7 separate regions of the Homo sapiens genome follow, and all the other regions are linked to region 6. The links are contacts of gene promoters, found by promoter capture Hi-C in human tissues and cell types (Jung and others, 2019). All regions are on one chromosome and are shown on one strand. Each heading gives the region's core, a stretch centred on a gene start or on the middle of the fragment in contact. The rest is flanking DNA. Distances are from core to core; before and after follow the strand shown. Region 1 has its middle 140 kb from the start of SNORD3P3. Region 2 has its middle 33 kb from the start of SNORD3P3. Region 3 holds the start of SNORD3P3 (small nucleolar RNA, C/D box 3 pseudogene 3). Region 4 overlaps LOC105370604 (a long non-coding RNA gene). Region 5 has its middle 58 kb from the start of SNORD3P3. Region 6 holds the start of FLRT2 (fibronectin leucine rich transmembrane protein 2). Region 7 has its middle 230 kb from the start of SNORD3P3.

What was found. Contacts are between HindIII fragments. The study calls those that stand out against the background at their distance.
Region 1: a fragment that was not itself captured here is called in contact with the fragment with the promoter of FLRT2 in region 6 in 1 of the 25 tissues and cell types used here (lymphoblastoid cells).
Region 2: a fragment that was not itself captured here is called in contact with the fragment with the promoter of FLRT2 in region 6 in 1 of the 25 tissues and cell types used here (H1 embryonic stem cells).
Region 3: a contact is called between a fragment that was not itself captured here and the fragment with the promoter of FLRT2 in region 6, in 1 of the 25 tissues and cell types used here (mesenchymal stem cells).
Region 4: a fragment that was not itself captured here is called in contact with the fragment with the promoter of FLRT2 in region 6 in 2 of the 25 tissues and cell types used here (hippocampus and mesenchymal stem cells).
Region 5: a contact is called between a fragment that was not itself captured here and the fragment with the promoter of FLRT2 in region 6, in 2 of the 25 tissues and cell types used here (H1 embryonic stem cells and mesenchymal stem cells).
Region 7: a fragment that was not itself captured here is called in contact with the fragment with the promoter of FLRT2 in region 6 in 1 of the 25 tissues and cell types used here (IMR-90 fibroblasts).

What each region holds. Positions count from the first base shown.
Region 1 is chr14:85,132,652-85,135,566 of GRCh38, reverse strand. No RefSeq gene overlaps it. Among named protein-coding and RNA genes, the nearest start is that of SNORD3P3, 140 kb to the left of the region's middle. The HindIII fragment of the contact is 3,623 bases long and covers 1-2,915 here.
Region 2 is chr14:85,237,088-85,239,787 of GRCh38, reverse strand. No RefSeq gene overlaps it. Among named protein-coding and RNA genes, the nearest start is that of SNORD3P3, 33 kb to the left of the region's middle. The HindIII fragment of the contact is 6,552 bases long and covers 1-2,700 here.
Region 3 is chr14:85,269,510-85,272,219 of GRCh38, reverse strand. SNORD3P3 (small nucleolar RNA, C/D box 3 pseudogene 3) reads right to left here and starts at 288; the gene lies at 159-288. The HindIII fragment of the contact is 3,942 bases long and covers 1-2,710 here.
Region 4 is chr14:85,174,814-85,177,664 of GRCh38, reverse strand. The region is part of intron 3 of LOC105370604 (a long non-coding RNA gene); the gene reads left to right. Among named protein-coding and RNA genes, the nearest start is that of SNORD3P3, 96 kb to the left of the region's middle. The HindIII fragment of the contact is 8,149 bases long and covers 1-2,851 here.
Region 5 is chr14:85,212,494-85,215,193 of GRCh38, reverse strand. No RefSeq gene overlaps it. Among named protein-coding and RNA genes, the nearest start is that of SNORD3P3, 58 kb to the left of the region's middle. The HindIII fragment of the contact is 4,104 bases long and covers 1-2,700 here.
Region 6 is chr14:85,528,719-85,531,479 of GRCh38, reverse strand. FLRT2 (fibronectin leucine rich transmembrane protein 2) reads right to left here and starts at 1,336. Exons shown (of 2, transcript NM_013231.6): 1 at 946-1,336. FLRT2-AS1 (FLRT2 antisense RNA 1) reads left to right here. Exons shown (of 2, transcript NR_184170.1): 1 at 1-2,761. The HindIII fragment of the contact is 3,489 bases long and covers 1-2,761 here.
Region 7 is chr14:85,036,158-85,039,007 of GRCh38, reverse strand. No RefSeq gene overlaps it. Among named protein-coding and RNA genes, the nearest start is that of SNORD3P3, 230 kb to the left of the region's middle. The HindIII fragment of the contact is 6,540 bases long and covers 1-2,850 here.

The DNA.
Region 1 (2,915 bases), core at 108-2,607, 400 kb after region 6:
ATATAGAAGTGTGATGTCTCTAGCTAGCTTTGTTCCTTTTTCTCAAGATTGCTTTGACTATTTTGGTGCTTTTGTGGTCTCACACAAATTTTTTGTTTTCGTTTTCTATTTCTGTGGAAAATGCCATTGGACTTTATATTTATAGAGATTGTACTGACTGTGTAGATTACTTTGGTTAGTATGGCTATTTTAACAATATTAATCCTTTTAATTCATTATTGTAGGATATCTTTTAATATATTTATATTTTCAACTTCTTTAGTCAATGTTTTATAATTTTCAGTGAACAGATCTTAAATCTCATTGGTTAAATTTATTCCTAAGTATTTTATTCTTCTGGATGCATTATCAATGGAATTGCTTTCTTCATTTTTTTTTAGATACTTTGTTGTTAGTGTATAGAAAGGCAGCTGATTCTTCTGTGTTGATTTTGTATCTTACAACTTCCCTGAATTCATTTTTTAGTTCTAACGAGTTTTGTTCATGTGGAGTTTTTAGGGTTTTCTATATATAAGATGATGCCACCTGCAAACAGATATAATTTTACTTATTTTTTATTTTAATTTTGATGTTTTAATTTAAAAATTTTTTTTCCTGACTAATTGACCTGACTAGGTCTTTCAGTACTATGTTGAATAGAAGTGGCAAGAATCGACATTCTTATCTTCTTCTTCTTCGTTTTTTTTTTTGTTGTTGTTGTTAGATGAAGTCTCCCTCTATCACCCTGGCTGGAGTGCAATGACAAAACCTCGGCTCACTGCAACCTCTGCCTCCTGGATTCAAGAGATTTTCCTGCCTCAGCCTCTCAAATAGCTGGAATTACAGGCACCTGCCACCTTGCCCGGCTAATTTTTTGTACTTTTAGTAGAGACTGGGTTTCTCTATGTTGGCCAGGCTGGTCTCAAACTCCTGACCTCAGGTGATCTGCCTGCCTCGGCCTCCGAAAGTGCTGGGTTTACAGGGGTGACCCACTGTGTCTGGCCTTATTCCTCATGTTAGAGGAAGAGCTTTCAGCTTTTTACCATTGAGTAAGATGTTAGCTGTAGGCCTTTGATATATGGTTTTTACTATATTGAGGTACATTTTCTCTATAAATACTTTGGTGAAAATTTTCATTAAGAACGTATGTTGACTTTTCCCACCTATTGGGATGATTATATAATTTTTATCCTTCATTCTGTTAATGGGGTACATCATAATGATTAATTTATGTATGTTGAACCATCCTTGAATTACAGGGATATGTCTCATTGATTATGTTGTGAGATCCTTTTATTGTGCTATTGAGTTCAGTTTGCTAGAACAGTTGGCCATCCATATCCATGGGTTCATCATCCATGGATTCAACCAACCACAGATGAAGAAAATTGGAAAAAAATTGCATTTGTACTAAACATGTTCAGACTTTCATTTCTTGTCATTATTACCTAAACAATATAGTATAACAACTACTTACATGACATTTACATTGTATTAGATATTATAAACAAGCTTCAGAGGACAAAACATACAGGCAGGTATATATATGCTTATATGCAAATGCTATGCAATTTTATATCAGGGACTTTAGCATCTGTGGATTATGATATTTGTGGAAGATCCTGGGAACAGTACCCTATGGATATAGATGAATGGCTGCATTTTGTTGAGGATTTTTGCATCTATGTTCATCAGGGACATTGGCCTGCAATGTTCTTTTCTTATGGTGTCCTGGCCTGGCTTGTTATTAGGATAATGCTGGCTTCATGAAATTAGTTTGGAAGTATCCCGTCATCTTCAATTTTTTGGAATAGATTAAGAAGAATTGACATTTATTCTTTTTAAAATGGTAGAACTCACCAGTGAAGCCATCTGACCTTGAGCTTTTCTTTGTTGGGAAATTTTTGGTGATTGATTAAATCTCCTTATTCATTATTAATTTGTTCATGTATTTTATTATTTCATGGTTCAGTCTTGGTAGCTTGTAGTTTCTAGGACTGCATCCATTTCTTCTAGGTTATCCACGTTTGTGGCATACGATTGTTATAGTAGTTTCTGATGGTCCTTTGATCTACGTGGTGTCACTTGTAATGTCCCCCTCTTTCATTTACAATTTTATTCATTTGAGTCTTCACTCATTTTTTTCTTAATTAGTCTAACTAAGGTATTATTAATTTTATCTTTACAAAAAACAATTCTCAGTTTTTTGGATCTTGTCTGTTTTTTTTTAAGTTTTTATTTCATTTATTTCTGTTTTAATTTTTATTATTTTTTTCTTCTAGTAACTTTGGGCTTACTTTGCCCTATTTCTCATTCTTTGTGATGTAATGTTAGGTTGTTTATTTGAGATCTTTCTTCTTTTTTAATGTACGCTTTTATTGCTTTAAACTTTCCTCTTAAAACTGCTTTTGCTATATATTCCAAAAGTTTTGGTATGATGTGTTTCCATTTTCATTTGTTTCAAAATTTTAAAAAACTATTTTTAAAATTTTTTCATTGACCCATAGGTTGTTTAGGACTATTTTATTTAATTTTCATATATTTGTAAATTATCTAAAATTCCTTCTGTTATTTATTTCTACATTGATATTATTTTTGGAGGAAAAATACTTGATATAATTTTAATCTTAAATTTGTTAAGGCTTGTTTTGTGCCCTAACACATGATCTATTCTATAGGATGTTTTGCACACACTAGAAAATAATGTGTATTCTATTGAGATTGTATGGAATGTTTCATATTTGTCCATTAGATCCATTTGGTCTAAAGTGTCCAAGTCCAATGTTTTCTTAATTTTCTGTATGAAATGATCTATTCATTTTTAAAAGTGAAGGACCGAATTCCTCTATTATTATTTGATTGCAATCTATCTCTCCTTGCAGATCTTTTAACATTTATTTTATATATGTAGATGCTCCAATATTGGGCACACATAT
Region 2 (2,700 bases), core at 83-2,582, 290 kb after region 6:
AATCTGGCAGTGTTTGCTCATTTGTTTGCTTGTTTTAAATAAAAACGAGGCTTAATTCAGAAGAAATCTTTGCTCAGAAATGGGACACTAAGTCATTCTTGTTTTCTAACTAAATTGATGGTGCACTGTTGTTGACTCTGGGGTTAAAGACTTCAGTAAGAAGCCTGCTTGGCCTTTTCTCCATACATCTGGTGACCTTAGAAAGTGATGACTTTATAGGATGTGACCACATGGCTCATACCACTGTGAGGTAAATGCAAAGCTCCCAGAAATCCCAGTGGGGGAGCAGAAAGAGTTATTATTCAGAAAGAGTTACTGGGTCACCACTGAACATGGTCCATAATATTTCTCCTCAAACTCAAATGAAAATTCAACTTGTTTTATGTAAGTTATAGAATATGTTCTAGCACCTATATGATTATTTCTCTCTCTCTCTCTCTCTCTCCGTGTGTGTGTGTGTGTGTGTGTGTGTGTGTGTGTGTAGTTTTATGGAAGAATGGAGACTTCATGTAATTTGAACACAAGAACCTCATTATGTTCTGTTTTGCATAACTTACCCTGTCTCCTCAGTAGGTCAGGAATGAAGTTAAGAAAAGAAGCAGGATTTCATGTCATGCATGTAGAATTCCAAGCTCAGTAACTGCTGTCTTTCTGTTTCTTCTGGGAATTCTTATCAATCTGATGGGCTTGTTTATAGTGCTAAATCAGAGTCTTAAAAGCCTCTATATGCTTTACTGAAACATGGAGTGCTTCTGAACTTTAAAATCAATTGCATCGATTCAATTCTAGAACATAAGTGAAGACTAATGGTTTTTATGTTCATTAACTTCTAATTTACATAAGATAGAAGATGTTAATATGGTCCCAGAGTCTTTGTGGGAAACCATTTTAGTCAAGCTAGAGAAAATGGGACTTCCACTTTCATTTGCAATGGATCAATATTCCCAAAATTAAAATATATAATCTTCAGATCAAATTCCACACTTCTTTTACCTTTTCTGTTACCAAAGAACATTTGTGAACTCTTGGTTGAGTCAATGTAGACTCTATCAGCTGCTCAGTTGCTTTTATAAATGGTTTTTCTCTTACGTTTTTCCAGAAGTTAAAATAAATTGACAAGTATTTGGAATGTTCTGAAATGTAGAAAAGTCTAACAGTCAAAATCAGAACTTAAGATAAAGGCAAAACTTGAAATATTTCCAATATGAATTACATTTAACTGAATTCTAAATATTTTAGAGGTTTTTCCCCTTGCAAATTAACAGTTGCTTTGTTTCTGACTTTTTAAAAAATTTTTGTTGGATACCAGAAATAATATTAGTGCAATGTGTAATTAGAAATAATACTAGTTGGGGCACATCTAAACCTAAACACAGATTGATATGGGAGTTAGAAGAATCTTAAATCATTTCTTAATCAAGTCCTGGATGTGATTTTCTTCTAGCCTTTGAATATTCTGCTTGTTTTCTTTGGAAAACAAGATAGGAATTACTTTCATTCTCCAAGTTAGCCTTCATTTGGAAAGTGCTGGATGTTTTCCTTGGGGTCATATTCCTTTTGTTTTTTTCATTCAACATTTCCATTTTTTTTATTGTTGAGGGGACAGGGTAGTGTTTGATCTGAGCAATATTTTATTTGTTCATGAAATAGTTTTAAACATACTTAGAATGGTTTCTAACTAATTTGGACTCCAAGTGAAACTCTACCACAGTTTTTGTGACTTTGGCCTATCTAATCGTTCCAAGATTCAATTTTCATACTTATAAAATGGGAACAATATTTCTACATCTTATTTTGGTTTGGAGAGGGTTATGTAAGATATTACTTGTAAATCAGCTGGTTCAATGACTGATATACATATATGTATATATACACACACACATATGTATATCTCCACAAACACACATGCGTATGTATGTATATATGTATGTATATATGTATGTATGTGTATATATGTATATATAGACATATATATGTGTGTGTATATATACACAGAGAGAGAGAGAGAGAGAGAGAAGGTGCTCAATAAATAATGGGATCTCATATCTTGGTCTGCTTATATTTTTGTCCTGAAGTCTACTTTTCTTGCCCCAAGTATTTTTCCTTACATGGGAATACAAGTGCATTCATGCTTTTATTTTCTATTTTGGTTGAACTCTGTGTATTCTCTGTAATTGCTTAGGGTCAGGTATGGCTGTATAAGACTGGGTACTCTACAATGGAACGACAACATGTAATGAAACCCAAATTAGGGTGTTAGAAATGACCCTATCTATAAAGAGGACACTGGGAGTGGAATACACATTTTCTAAAATGCTTCAGTTAAAAACAAAAGCAACAATACAAACAGAACAAAACAAATTCAGTTGCTTTAAGCCCCATTTATTATATTTGACTTTAAAAGTACAGCAGAAATTAAAATTATAAATATCTCATGACAAATAAAGTAACCCAGTTACTTACTTTTCCAAAACCATCTCATCCATTACCATGTTAATATATAGAAAGCTGTATACTTTCATATTTTTGAATGTTTATTTTATTCTTCATTGCCAACTTTCACACAGCTGCTTTGATAGATTATAACCAGGTTGCTTAAAAGCATTTGAGCTCATTACTTACAGTCACAAAGTTTCTACATGAAATTAAACGTTAATGTCAAATAATAAAAATCATCAGTTTTTTTTCACTGTTTCTAAT
Region 3 (2,710 bases), core at 1-2,500, 260 kb after region 6:
GCATTTTGCTGAGTGTTACATGCCATAGCCACCAGGTCTTAGTAAAACTTGCAATCGGAATATGGGGTTTTGAGGAATGATAGAATAAGAAAAGTAGAGAAAAATAAGTTTAGAAGATAGGTTTAAGTAATATGCTTTGTGTTTTCAATGTAGTATTGGCTGGGAGAATGGGGAAAAGCATCTCAGTGACATGGGTCTCTTTGGATAATTAGCATTTTAGTGCTCTACACGTTCAGAGAAACTTCTCTAGTAACAAACTATAGAAATGATCCCTGAAAGTATAGTCTTGGATAATTAGCATTTTAATGACTGAGATAGAAAGGTGAAGTAGATGGTATTTGATACGGTTTGGCTGTGTCCCCACCCACATCTCACCTTGAACTGTAATAATCCCCACATGTTAAGGGTAAGGCCAGGTGGAGATAATTGAAGCATAAGGGCAGTTTCCCCCATACTGTTCTCATGGTAGTGAATAAGTCTCAGGAGATCTGACGGTTACATAAATGGGAATTCCCCTGCACAAGCTCTCTCCTGTCTGCCGCCATGTAAGACGTGACTTTGTTCCTTAATCGCTTTCCGTCATGATTGTGAGGCCTCCCCAGCTATGCGGAACTGTGAGTTTATGAAACCTTTTTCCTTTATAAATTACCAAGTCCCAAATGTGTCTTTATTAGCAGCGTGAGAACAGACTGATACAGTATTGCAGTGAAAATATTCACCACTTCTCCATACTGGGCCAGTACATGGAGAGGTATTATACTCCTTACTCCATTAAGGTTAGATTTTGTCAAATAACTGCCTTTCGTTAATAAAATGTTCACCATTTCCAAGAAAAAGCTTTCAGAGTCCCACCATCTCTCTGTTCCTTCTGCCAAGTGACTGTTGTGTTCTAGAGAGGAGTTGCTCTATTAGCTTATTCTGAGAATGGAGGGGCAAGGAAAAAAGCCACAGGCAAACATGATAAGCAGGAAATGTGAGTGGGAAATACACCTCTGTGGTTTTAACCCACTGAGGTTTGGAATCTATTCATTACTAGAGAAAAATGTAGTTTAAACTGACTGATACAGGGACAGGACATTCTGGAAGATGCTACAAACACACACAGAAGGCATAGAGACAGAAAACTAAACAGCATTTGATTTAGAGACAAAGAGAGTAAGGGAATTGTGCATAGAAGTGTAGTTTGTATTCACATTGCAGAGGACCCTATGAGTCTGAATGCTAGAACTAGTAGTAGTTAATAACTAACTTAATAGGCAATAGGTAAATAATAGATGATTAAACTAGAAAAATGGCTTCTTAGAGCTACACTTCAAGAAACATTTCTCTGACAGCTGAATGCAGGAGGTATTGCGAACAGAAATGGGAAGTAGATTTTTGGAAAGACTATTCACTTGGCTATATTTACTAAGCACATCTCCTGTGTGTCAGACGTTGAGAGGGGCATAGGTGGTAGAATGAAGAAGCGATCCTTGCTTTCACAAAAGTTACACTTTAGTAGACAAGACAGCTATTAAATAATAAAACAAGTAAATAATATAATTTCCAACTGTTAAAAGTGCTAGGAAAAAAACAGAATGTTATGAGAGTGAATGATAGAGAAAATTTACTCAGGACCATAAGGACAGCTACTCAATGGCTTCTTAAGCAAATAATATCAGAGGAATGCTTAAAACAGGAGGTGATAATTGGAACCAATGGGAATTGCAAGGTTGCAATGACTGTGAAAGGCATTGTGAGGATAAATTCTGCAGACTGATTTGTTAATTTATTTAGTCCAAAGGATAAAAGAAAAAGAAGATGCCAATATGACTGATTTTTTGGGCCTGGATGACTAGGGACTTAGTAGACCCTTCAGCAGAAATAACTATGTTGGGAAAGAGTTTTTAAGAGGAAAAGAGACTACTGGGTGCCAATTATTATGAACCTAAAATACAAATATGAAGGAAAGATAGGAGTGTCCAATGGACAATGGGCAACGTAGGTTTGGAACTGGAGAGAGAGCCTGTGGCTAGGAATATTGACTTGAAAATTGAAACTTTAGTTAAATATGAAATATCTAAGGTAGACCGAAGCTTGAAGTTGAATATTTGGTAGGCTGGGGAATAAATGTGTTTGAAAAGTTGTTAGAGAGGCTAAAGGTAAAACCTGTATAGTATAAAATAGAGTTCATTTGTGTTAGCCTGTCATTTGAAAGGTCAGGAGGTGCAGCCAAAAGAAGTTGGCTTACTACAATCTGGGCTCTGACTATCTCCATCGTTGTGCTCCTGAACAAGATATCTTATTTCTCAGTCAGTCTTATCATCTATAAAATGGAGATAATAAGTTGCATCTTGGTTGGTGCTGGCTCTGAATGTTCATGTCCCCCTCAAATTTGTATGTTAAAATAACCCCCAAGGTGATGGTATTAGGAGGTGGGGATTTGGGGGAAGGGATTAGGTCATGAGGGTAGAGTCCTTATGAATGGAATTCATGCCCTTACAAAAGAGGCCCCAGAGAGCTACCTGGCCCCTTCCACCATGTGAAGACACAGCAAGAAATTGGCAGTCTGTATCTGGAAGAGGGCCCTCACCAGAACCTGACCATGCTGGCACCCTGATCTTGGACTTCCTAGCCTTTAGAACTGTGATAAATATGTTTCTGTTGTTACAGGCTACCCAGCCTATGGTGTTTTCTTACACCAGCCTGAATAGACTAAGGCAGTTGGAAA
Region 4 (2,851 bases), core at 135-2,634, 350 kb after region 6:
ATGCAGGAGTACTTGAAGCAGATTAATACTGAAAGAGCTTCTAACACATCAAACAATCCTTCAAATGTCTCTTAGACAAGATTTTTCACATGAAATGCCTGTACTTAGCTCAAGAAGGAAGGATTTTATCACAACTGGAATGCCTGACAGATTGCAATAGTATGCCTTCGACTATGGAATAAATTGTGTTCTATCCAAATGTTTATATTGAACCCTAAACCCTAAATATGGCTATATTTAGAGACAGGATCCATAAGGAGGTAATTAAGGTGAAATGAGGTCAACAGGGTGGGGCCTGCTTCAATTAGATTAGCCACCTTAAAGAAGAGACACCAGAGAGCTCCTTTGCTTTCTTTCCATGCATATGGGAAGGTCATGTGGGGACAAAGTGATCAGGGGATTGTCTGCAAGCCAGAAAGAAAGCTCTGGCCAGGAACCAACCTTGCTGGACCTCTTTCGAGGACTTGTGGCCTCCAGAACTATAAGTAAGTAAAATTCTGTTGTTTAAGGCACCCAGTTGTATCTTATTGTGGCAGCCCGAGCAGACTAATACATGTTTCCACTGAGCATTATTCAAGGATAATTACATTAATAATTAATATTTTAATGTCAAGAAAGACACTCATATCTCAGACTCACAAAAATAAGCATTCAGTATGGCCTCTGGACAGCATGGGGACTACCGCCCTTTTCTTTTTAGAAAAGGTAAACAACCATGTAAATCCCATCCCTTCAATGATTTATTTGCATGAGGATGAAATCTAGGGCCCTCGTAAAGAGTACAAATATAAATGTGCATAGTGTGTTTACCCATTAAATATATTAGTGCCCATTATTTATTCATTTTAATTATTCTCTGGGGTCTGCCATGTGCCCAGCACATCTGTGAGTGCTGGGGAAACAGTGGTGTGCAGGCCAGCAAAATCCCCAGTCAGTGAGGAGCCTGCATAACAGATAATAAACAAGTAAACATGCCATTGATATAATTTTCAGAGAGTAAAGAGCATAGAAAAAGCAAAACCACAAGATGAGATGATGAATGGCAGCTATTTGAGATTTCTGTCAAGAAGGCAGAGCCTACCCTCATGCAGCTTAAAATGAAATGATGGTAACACTTTAAGCAAGGAAGTGAATGTATTAAGATTATGTGCACAGGTGGCTATTGGAACACAAAGAAAAAATGTCTTATACAATTTTGGGAGGCCAGAGAAGTCTTTACCAGGGACAGTAAGAGTAATGGAGAAGAATGGCTAAATAATTCAGCATGGAAAGAGAGAGATGTGGGTTGGAACTTGGCTCTCCTGTGTGATGCTTGCTAGTGACTTATTCTCTCTGATTCTTTTCTGTCTTGTAAAATAGGGCTTGTAATACCCTCTCACAGGAAGGGGAGAAGGTTGGTGTTCAATACCCAGAATGAGAAATAGCCTGAAATAGTCCTAGAAATAGAAGTGGTTCACAGAGAATGAGGCCATAAATGAAAAACATTAAGGCAGAGGTCATATCATAAAGGTCCATGCTAAGGAACCAGAAGTATAGTTTGAGGCAAGGGATATATCCCTTGGCCATTTAAGGGCTTCAAGATGATTAAAGTTTTAATTTATAAATTCACAGAAGATTTTTAACGTTCATTTCATTTTATCTATATTTTCTAAATTTCTGACACTGAATAGTACTTATATAAATTTTGAATTCTTAAAGCAGTTAGAAAAAAATAACCCTATTGAATTAGTCAAAAAATGCAAAGGACCACAAATTGGCGATATTCCTGCATAAACATATGATATCAGTTTAACAACCTCCAAATAAGTGCATTGGCCTGTGGGCTTTGGTATCTGAGGTCTTTATGACATAAAAATTGATAATCCAGGGAGATGAGCATCTGTTCTGTAATCTTTGGCATTATCCTCATGCACATATTTTCTTGGTAAGAGGATTGAGCAACAGAAACTTAGACATCCTGGAAATTCTGCTACATCATCCAATATGGAAGTTTTCCTGGACTGAATGGTCTGTTTACAGAAGATATACTAATGCTGATCATAATCAACTGTCATAGCCCAGCAATTCCATCCCTAAGTATATGCCTATAGAAATTTCCATAGATGGTCAACCAAAAAAAAAAAAAAGTATGAGCAGCACAAATTGCAAACTCCCCAAATGCTCATTAATAGTAAAATGAGATAAGTATATTTTGGTATATTTCCCCAAAATGAAATAGGGTACAGAACTAATAATAAAATGACTGCAACAACTCACAAGTATACTGTTGAGTGAAAAAGATCAAACAAAAAAATGTAGATACTGTAAGGTAGGGGTGTGTGTGGGGGGTGGGGTGTGTGTGTGTGTGTGTATGTGTGTGTTTATGCATTTACGCTGAGGGGGTGTAATAGATAATTTCATGTGTCAACTTGACTGGGACATGGGGTGCCCATATAAATGGCCCAACATTATATGGGGTATTTCTATAAGGGTGGTTATGGATGAGATTAACATTTAAATCAGTAAGCTGAGTAAAGCAGATTGCCCACCCTGAAGTGGGTGAGCCTCATCCAATCAGTTGAAAGCCTAAATTAAACAAACAAACAAACAAACAAAAAGTCTGACCCTCCTCTGAGAAATAGTGAATTGCTCCTGCCTGACTTCATTTGAACTGGGACACCAGCTTTGTCCTACTTTGGGAATTGAAGTGAAACATCAGTTAGTCCTGGATCTGGAGCCTGCTGGCCTTTGGCCTGCAACCACACCATTAGCTCTCCTTGGTCTAGAAGACTCAGCCTGAAGATCTTAGGACTTGTCAGCCTACATAACTGCATGAACCAGTTCCTTCAATAAATCTCTTTATAAATGTAAA
Region 5 (2,700 bases), core at 119-2,618, 320 kb after region 6:
ATTCATCCAGTGATGGATACTTATGTGGATTCCATATTTTGGTTATTGTGAATCATGCTGCATTAAACATGAGAGCACAGATATGTTGTTCTCCACATATTGATATATTTTATTTGGTTATATAACCAGTAGTGGAATTACTGAATCATATGATAGTTCTATTTTGAGTGTTTTGAGGAACCTCCATTTATTTTATTTATTTATTTATTCATTTATTTTTAGACAGAGTCTCACTGCCAGGTTGGAGTGCAGTGGTGCAATCTTGGCTCACTGCAATCTCCGCCTTCTGGGTTCAAGCGATTCCCCTGCCTCAAGCCTCCCGAGTAGCTGGGACTACAGGCATGCACCATCACACCTGGCTAATTTTTTGTATTTCAGTAGAGACGGGGTTTCACCATGTTGGCCAGGATTGTCTCAATCTCCTAATCTCGTGATCAGCCCACCTTGGCAATTTACATTTCCACCAATAGTGTAGGAGAGCTCTTTTTTTCCCACAGCCTCACCAGCATCTGTTAGTTCCTGACTTTTTAATAAGAGTCATTCTGAGGTAAGATAATATCTCATTGTGGTTTTGACTTGCGTTTCTCTGATTATTAGTCATGTTTAACATTTTTCATATACCTATTAACCATTTGTGTGTCTTCTTCTGAGAAATGTCTATTCAAATCTTTTGCTCATTTTTTAATCAAAAAAAATTTTTCTTTGCTATTTCGTGGTTTGAGCTCCTTATATTTTCTGGTTATTATATCTTTGTCAGATAGATAGCTTGAAAATTGTTTTCTCCCATTCTGTAGATTGTCTCTTCACTTTGTTGATTGTTGCCTTTGCTGTGCAGAAGATTTTTAACTTGATGTAATCCCATTCAAATAATTAATTGTTTTTACAATTACACAACAAGTGTACTGTTTTAATAAGCCATAAAGATCTTGGAAATACTTTAATAGCAATAAGGCAATTGTAACCATATGTGATTTGAAATAAAGAATATTAATAATAATAATATTTGTAACATTGACCTATGTCTCATTTGCCAGATGTTGGTAAGATTTCATCCCTAGGTCTTTGTATCTCCTTGGCCTTTGAAAATACCCATGTTTCTTCCAGATTTCAATGGTCATATTGACAAATTATAGAATATTTATGTCTATGTATTATAGTTTTATACAATAAATATAATGACATTATGTAACAGATACTATACAGAACACACTTGAAGATGCATGATAAGAAGTTTATGAGCATTCTCCATGGGTTGTCAACTTGTACAGACACCTTGCCCTGACATTCTCATTCTCATTCATCATCTCTTCCTGTAATCACAAATCTCAGCAAATACCAGGAAGCTTATTTCAGTTACCATCTTAATGTTCATCAAGAAGGGTGATAAGTCAAGAAGAGTCATGAATATACATAACTTTTATATTACATATAAGGTCTTGGACTTTTATATTATCTGAATTTCTCAAATCACGAAAACTTTCTCATTCATTGGCACCATTTCATTTATATTATCCTTGCCCTCACTCAACAGTATTGCAACATCTTGTAGGGATAAAGTGAACAGCACATATTGTTGGCTAGTTGTTTCTATTTCAATTCAAGTTAAATTTACTGAAGTGAGCTTACATTTATTTGGAGAAAAAAACAATTTTCCAAAACCATATCACAATATCACATTATCCTCCTACCTACAATTTTGGGCTAGGATGTTCTTCAGTAACAAATAAATTCTTACATCTCAGTGACTTAACCAGCAAGATACAGATCTATTTATCACTAATGTTACAGTCCAATGTAGGTTAGATAGCTCTCCTCTGCAGCTCTACTGCTCCACATAGTGACTCAGGGACCCAGGTTGTTTTCATTTTGCAATTCTACCTTTAAAATCTTTTGCTTTGGATACAAAATCAATGTACAAAAATCACAAGCATCCTTATACAACAATAACAGACAAACAGAGAGCCAAATCATGAGTGAACTACCATTCACAATTGCTTCAAAGAGAATAAAATACCTAGGAATCCAACTTACAAGGGATGTGAAGGACCTCTTCAAGGAGAACTACAAACCACTGCTCAATGAAATGAAAGAGGATACAAACAAATGGAAGAACATTCCATGCTCATGGGTAGGAAGAATCAATATTGTGAAAATGGCCATACTGCCCAAGGTAATTTATAGATTCAATGCCATCCCCATCAAGCTACCAATGACTTTCTTCACAGAATTGGAAAAAACTACTTTAAAGTTCACATGGAACCAAAAAAGAGCCTGCATCACCAAGTCAATCCTAAGCCAAAAGAACAAACCTGGAGGCATCACACTACCTGACTTCAAACTATATTACAAGGCTACAGTAACCAAAACAGCATGGTACTGGTACCAAAACAGAGATATAGATCAATGGAACAGAACAGAGCCCTCAGAAATAATGCCGCATATCTACAACCATCTGATCTTTGACAAACCTGGGAAAAACAAGCAATGGGGAAAGGATTCCCTATTTAATAAATGGTGCTGGGAAAACTGGCTAGCCATATGTAGAAAGCTGAAACTGGATCTCTTCCTTACACCTTATACAAAAATTAAGTCAAGATGGATTAAAGACTTACATGTTAGACCTAAAATCATAAAAACCCTAGAAGAAAACCTAGGCAATATCATTCAGGACATAGGCATGGGCAAGGACTTCATGTCTAA
Region 6 (2,761 bases), core at 87-2,586:
ACCTTGATCTTGGGCTTGATTATAAATGACGAAAGACCGCGGCAGCCTTCAAAGTGCGGGAGCGAGCCCCGTACTGGTCAGCGCGGCGGAGGGATCTTTCCAGGAGGCCCCAAGCCCCCAAGCCTGTGGAGAGACTTGGTAACAGCTGGCAAGGCCTGCTCCAGCCACCCTCGCTGGCTCCTTGCCCCTGCATTCAGCGCCTGAGGGCGTTATTCGCCCTCTCCCTGCGTCCCACGCAAGCGGCTCAAGGAACTCACTCGATCCGGATTCCGCCTCGTATGCTCTCCAAGCCTTCGCCACCTCCGCAGGCGCTCTAGAAAGGCGTGATGGCCCCAGCTCAGTGCCCGCCAGCCCGAAGAGGACAAGCAGGGCTGGAAGGGACTTGGTTTTGGAAAAAGCCCCACCCGCCCCCACCAACTGGAAGGAAAAGGAATTAGTATCCACCGCATCTGTTTAACTGCTAATAGATCCCAGATTACGGGCAGGTAGTAGGTTGGTGTCTTTAGATACAACAGCCTGATAATAACGCTGGTGACATTAACAACAGCTTGTGGAGGGGAGAGGGTTGTTACTGGTGAAAGTTAAGAGATTCAATCTAGGGAAGTAGGAGACTGAACTCTGACAAGGTTAGGGGCACTGAGAACCCCAATTTAGCATCGATGCATCTACCAGGCAAGAAAATTTGCGTTTTGACCCAGAACTCAGTCATGATGCTCCGTAGAGGAGGTGGATTCGACCAGCAGACAGATGTCCCCAAAGTCGAGAGAGAGCTAAGCTGCCTATTTTCTCTCCAGGTGAAAGACAAAGCCTAGAGCACCCCACTTAAGATGACCACCCCCAGCTCTTTCAAAAAAAAAAAATCCCCCGAAGAGACAGCGTGGTGCCAGCGTAGCAGCAGCTCGGCCGGTTACTGGAAACTTCACCTGGCAACGCAGCCCCTTTTACCTGACGGCTGCGTCTTCTCCTTGCAATGGGCTCATCCGAATCCGACAGGGTCAGGGAGGTGGAAAGGGAAGACGCTGGCGCGGCAGCAGCGGGGATCCCGGGGCATGGTATTGTTTTAGGGGTCGCCGCCGAGGTCCCTCCTGCCCATCGTTGAGAACTGCCACCCTGATCCCAGGGCTCGGTGGACACGGCGGCGGGAGCGGAGATGCCGCCTCGCCGCTGCTGGGCACCAGGGACGGAGGACCAGAGGCGCACCTCGGAAAGGAGTAGCTCAGCGCCTTGGCGCGGAGATTTGCGGGCACTGATGATATCTCGAGCGCTCGTTCCTCCGCGGTGACAATGGATAATGCCAAACGCGCAAGTGACGGCGACAGGTTTCGAACGTACAACTAACTACAAGGTACCCAGCCTGAGACAGTATGCTGCTTTTCCCCTCCTCCTCCTCTCCCTCCTACCAGGGAGGGAACTAACTTAACCCTGTGTGCGCCTGACACTCCCTAGAGAAGCTGGGATCGACTAGGAAACCGCAGGCAGCGGCTCCCGGGGGCGAGAGCTTTGTTCACGTGCGTTTCCAGTGGGTGTGTTGCTGTCTAGGGGCACTCGCGTGGCAAGACGCCCGTGGCTGGCTTCCAGCGCCCAAGATTCAAGGAAGGGAAGGAGCCCTAGCGTTTCATCCGGACCAGACCCAGCCCTCGGAGTCTATTTTTTGCCTCCAGTTACCGGATTTATTGAAGTTGCCAGCGAAGTTGGTTTTATTCCTTTACTTCTCTGCTCTCCGCCCCCGTCCACATCCCCCAACCCTGTATTATTTCCTGTCCTAGCTGCGCTTTAAAGATTCGGAACTTTTCACTCGTTCTAGCTACAGATTTTAACTGTGTTCCGTGTGCGAGACGAATTGTGGAGGGCACCCACCCACCCATGCCAAGTGTAAATGAAACCGCAAGAAAAGCTGCCTCCCACTCACCCATCCAGTGTCCGAGTAAGCCTAATGACACACATTCACATAACTAAGAAGACACGGGAAGATAGGGGTGCGGAGGACGGAGTTTGATGTGTGAATGGGAAATGGAGAGAGGGGACAGCGCGCGCGAGAGAAACAGCGCGAGCCTGAGCCTTAGAATGGAATAAACGGGAAACACACACAAGAATGACGATGCAAAAAATGTATCTAAGTCCCAACATTGACAGCAGAGGGTCAGCTTTAAGCGCCTACATTTTGATCCGCGAAATTTCCCAGCTTTTTTGGAGGCGGTTACATAGAGAACACAGGAGCCTCTGCCTTGGCCGCCCAGATGCTTTGCATTTTGTAAACAGCTTTGACTAAGTGCTCTGGACTTCCAAGAAGTTAACTGGAGTGGAAGGCGAGTCATATTGTGGATGCGGAATGGAAGCTTAGACAAGAAAAAACTGTCAGCAGAGCGCCTCTGCTCTCACCGTCACACCCAAATGAGCCAGGACGTCGCTCAGAGCGCAAACTGAGATCCACACAGGGACATCTTCAACCGAATCTTTCTTCTGTCTCCATTCCGGACTAAGGAAAGAAAGAAAGAAATACGGAGCCTTTATAGAGTATTCAGAGGCTACACACATGGATCTTGCTGAAACGGAGTTATTTAAAAACAGAGAAAGTGTGTTTTCCCATGAGATAGATGTTATAGTTTCTCTCTGAAACATACCCAAGTCTATGGGTGTCAATAATAGCCATTTCAAATGCCTCTCTGAGCCTTGCCAGCCCCAGAAGAGGCTGTGGGAATGCTGCTTCCAGCTTCCCCTGTGCAGAACTCCGTTGTAAATCCTTCTGAGTTTCCAAGGTGGC
Region 7 (2,850 bases), core at 333-2,832, 490 kb after region 6:
TAGCTATTTGCAGCCATCTTGAAGCCACACATGGTCTGCTTTGCAATGAAACCGTACCCTTGCAGGCTGAAAAAAATACTGCCATTGAGAACAACAGGCTAAGTACATGTGTAAACCGGATCAAGCTTTGCATGGCCTTTTTTCTTTTTAATTCAATCTGTTAAGAAGGGAAATTAATTCTTTTTTAACATAAGCCAATTTGGGTTGTGGTTTCTATTATTCATGACCAAAATAACCCTAAGTGTTGCACAAAACCTACATCTGCAGAAACCAAATTTCACACCCTTGCTTTGTTTAGAGAAAACCTTTAGACTGAGTAAGAGATATCTGCAACCATTACGGGTAACTTTAGTTAGGAAATTCCCAAATGTTTTTGAAACCTAGATGCAGAAAGAAGAACCACATGCACGTGAAAGTGTTTTTGGGCCCAGCGTGGTGGCTCATGCTTGGAATCCCAGCACTTTGGGAGGTCGAGGCCGGTGGATCACCTGAGGTCAGGAGTTCGAGACCAGCCTGGCCAACATAGTGAAACCCCGTCTCTACTAAAAATACAAAAAATTAGCCGGGCGTGGTTGTGGGTGCCTGTAATCCCAGCTACTCAGGAGGCTGAGGCAAGAGAATCACTTGAACCTGGGAGGCAGAGGTTGCAGTGAGTCGAGATTGTACCACCGCATTCCAGCCTGGTGACAGAGCAAGACTCTCTAAAAAAAATAGGGTTTCTCGATTCTAGGTTAAAGAAGTACTTTGGATTCATGTATCAGATTGTGTGGAACATCAAATTGGAGGGGGAGATATTTTCTTTGCTGCTTCTCATAGCCAGCACTAGTCTCACTCCAGGAGTCTGAGCTTTGTGAGCAATGAGACTCAGTGCCTTTGGCACAGACACTGGCTTACTATGTGGCTTCATATGCCAGGGCAAAGGTGAGACTCTTACAAGTGACTTTGAGTGCAGGTGCCATCAGTGCAAGGAGGTGGGTGGGGGACGCTGGCAGTTGAATGTAAATTACATTAAAACTTTGACATGGGAGAGTGGTAGACATATTTGTTTGTGAGCATTAATTTTTTTTTTTTTGGTGAGTTTTTTATGCGGGGTTGTCAAGAACTCTGAAGGACCTGAGATGTTACCTTGCTTGCAAGCTAAGAAGTTAGTACAGCACAACTTTTTGAATGCTTGTCATTAAAAAAGTCATTAGACTGCAGGGTAAAAGACAAAGGAGTTTATCACTAAGAGCAAAACAATCATGAGCACCAATTCACCTTGCTCCCGAATCCCATAAGGACAATGTAGAGGAGTCTACAGAGACACCACCCACACAATGGGTTAGCATCATACATGAGTAATTCTGACCTTAGGGGACCCAAGTATTTTATATAGAGCAGTAAAAACAACTGCCTTCTGCCCTGGAGGTACATAGTACTTCTATCATGTAAGGCTGTTTGGTACCCAAACATTCCTGACATTTTAGTCTAAAGCAAAAAGGGAGTTAGTGTCTTTGATGGTTAATTTCAACTGCCAACTTGACTGGATTAAAAGATACCTGATAACTGGTAAAGCGTTGTTCCTGGGTGTGTCTGTGAGGGCATTTCTGGAAGATATTGGCCTATGAGTTGGTGGACTTAGTATGAAAGATCAGCCCTCAATGTTGGGGGGCACGATCCAATCAGCGGGGGCCCTGGAGAGAATAAAAAGCAGAGGAAAGGCAAATTTGCTCTTTCTTCTGAAGCTGGTTCACCCTTCTTCTCCTGCCCATGGACATTAGGACTCCAGATTCTCTAGTCTTTGGACTACGGGACTTGCACCAGCAATTGCCCAGAGGTCTTGGGCCTTTGGCCTCAGACTGAGAGTTACACCATTGGCTTCCTTGGTTGTGAGGCTTTTGGAGTTGGACTGAACCATGTCACTGGATTCCCTGGGTCCCCAGCTTACAGACAGCTTTTGATGGGACTCTTTAACCTCCATAATCACACGAGCCAATTCCTCTAATAAATCTCCTTTATCCCCTATCTATCTATCTATCTATCTATCTATCCATCCATTCATCCTATTGGTTCTGTGTCTTTGAAGAATCTTGACTAATACAGTGTCTCTGCCTGACATATATGTAGAATTTCATGGAGAGACTCACAGAGCACTGTCTCCCAGAAGGACATCAGAGTATTGTTTGGGAATCCCACATTGAGTTGGTGGATATTAAATTCTTACAGTATGCACATTAATAAATAACATGCTCATTATAACTCAAAGTATAAAATAAATATTTATGAGTCCATACTGATATAAATGAATGAGTAAATTTATACATGGAGGAAAGGAAACAAATCTCCCATATAGAAGAATTCCAAATAATTTATGTAAATACTCTGCCTTCAAAGAGGGGGAGATTAATTCTGTTCTCTGTAAGTGTGGGCTAAACACAGTGACTTCCTTCCAAAGCATATAAAAATTAGGGTGGGGTAGGAGAAGAAGAGAAAATTTACAGTGGAGAAAAAGGACAAACCCTACATACTTCAGGTGATAAAGCCCAACAACAGTCATATCATGTTGATAGTATGTATTCTGAATATGATATGATGGCAATAGCACTTTACCTCTGAGATCTTTCTCCAGATAACCCATAACCTCAGCCTTATCATGAGAAAAACATGAGAAAAATTCCAGTGTGGAGTATTGTACAAAATACTTGCTACTACTCCTCAAAATACTCAAAGCCCTTAATGTGGTTTGGCTCTGTGTCCTCAACCAAATCTCATGTCAAATTGTAATTCCCATGTGTCAGAGGAGGGGCCTGGTGGGAGGTGATTGAATCACGGGGCGGACATCCCCCCTTGCTGTTCTCTTGATAGTGAGTG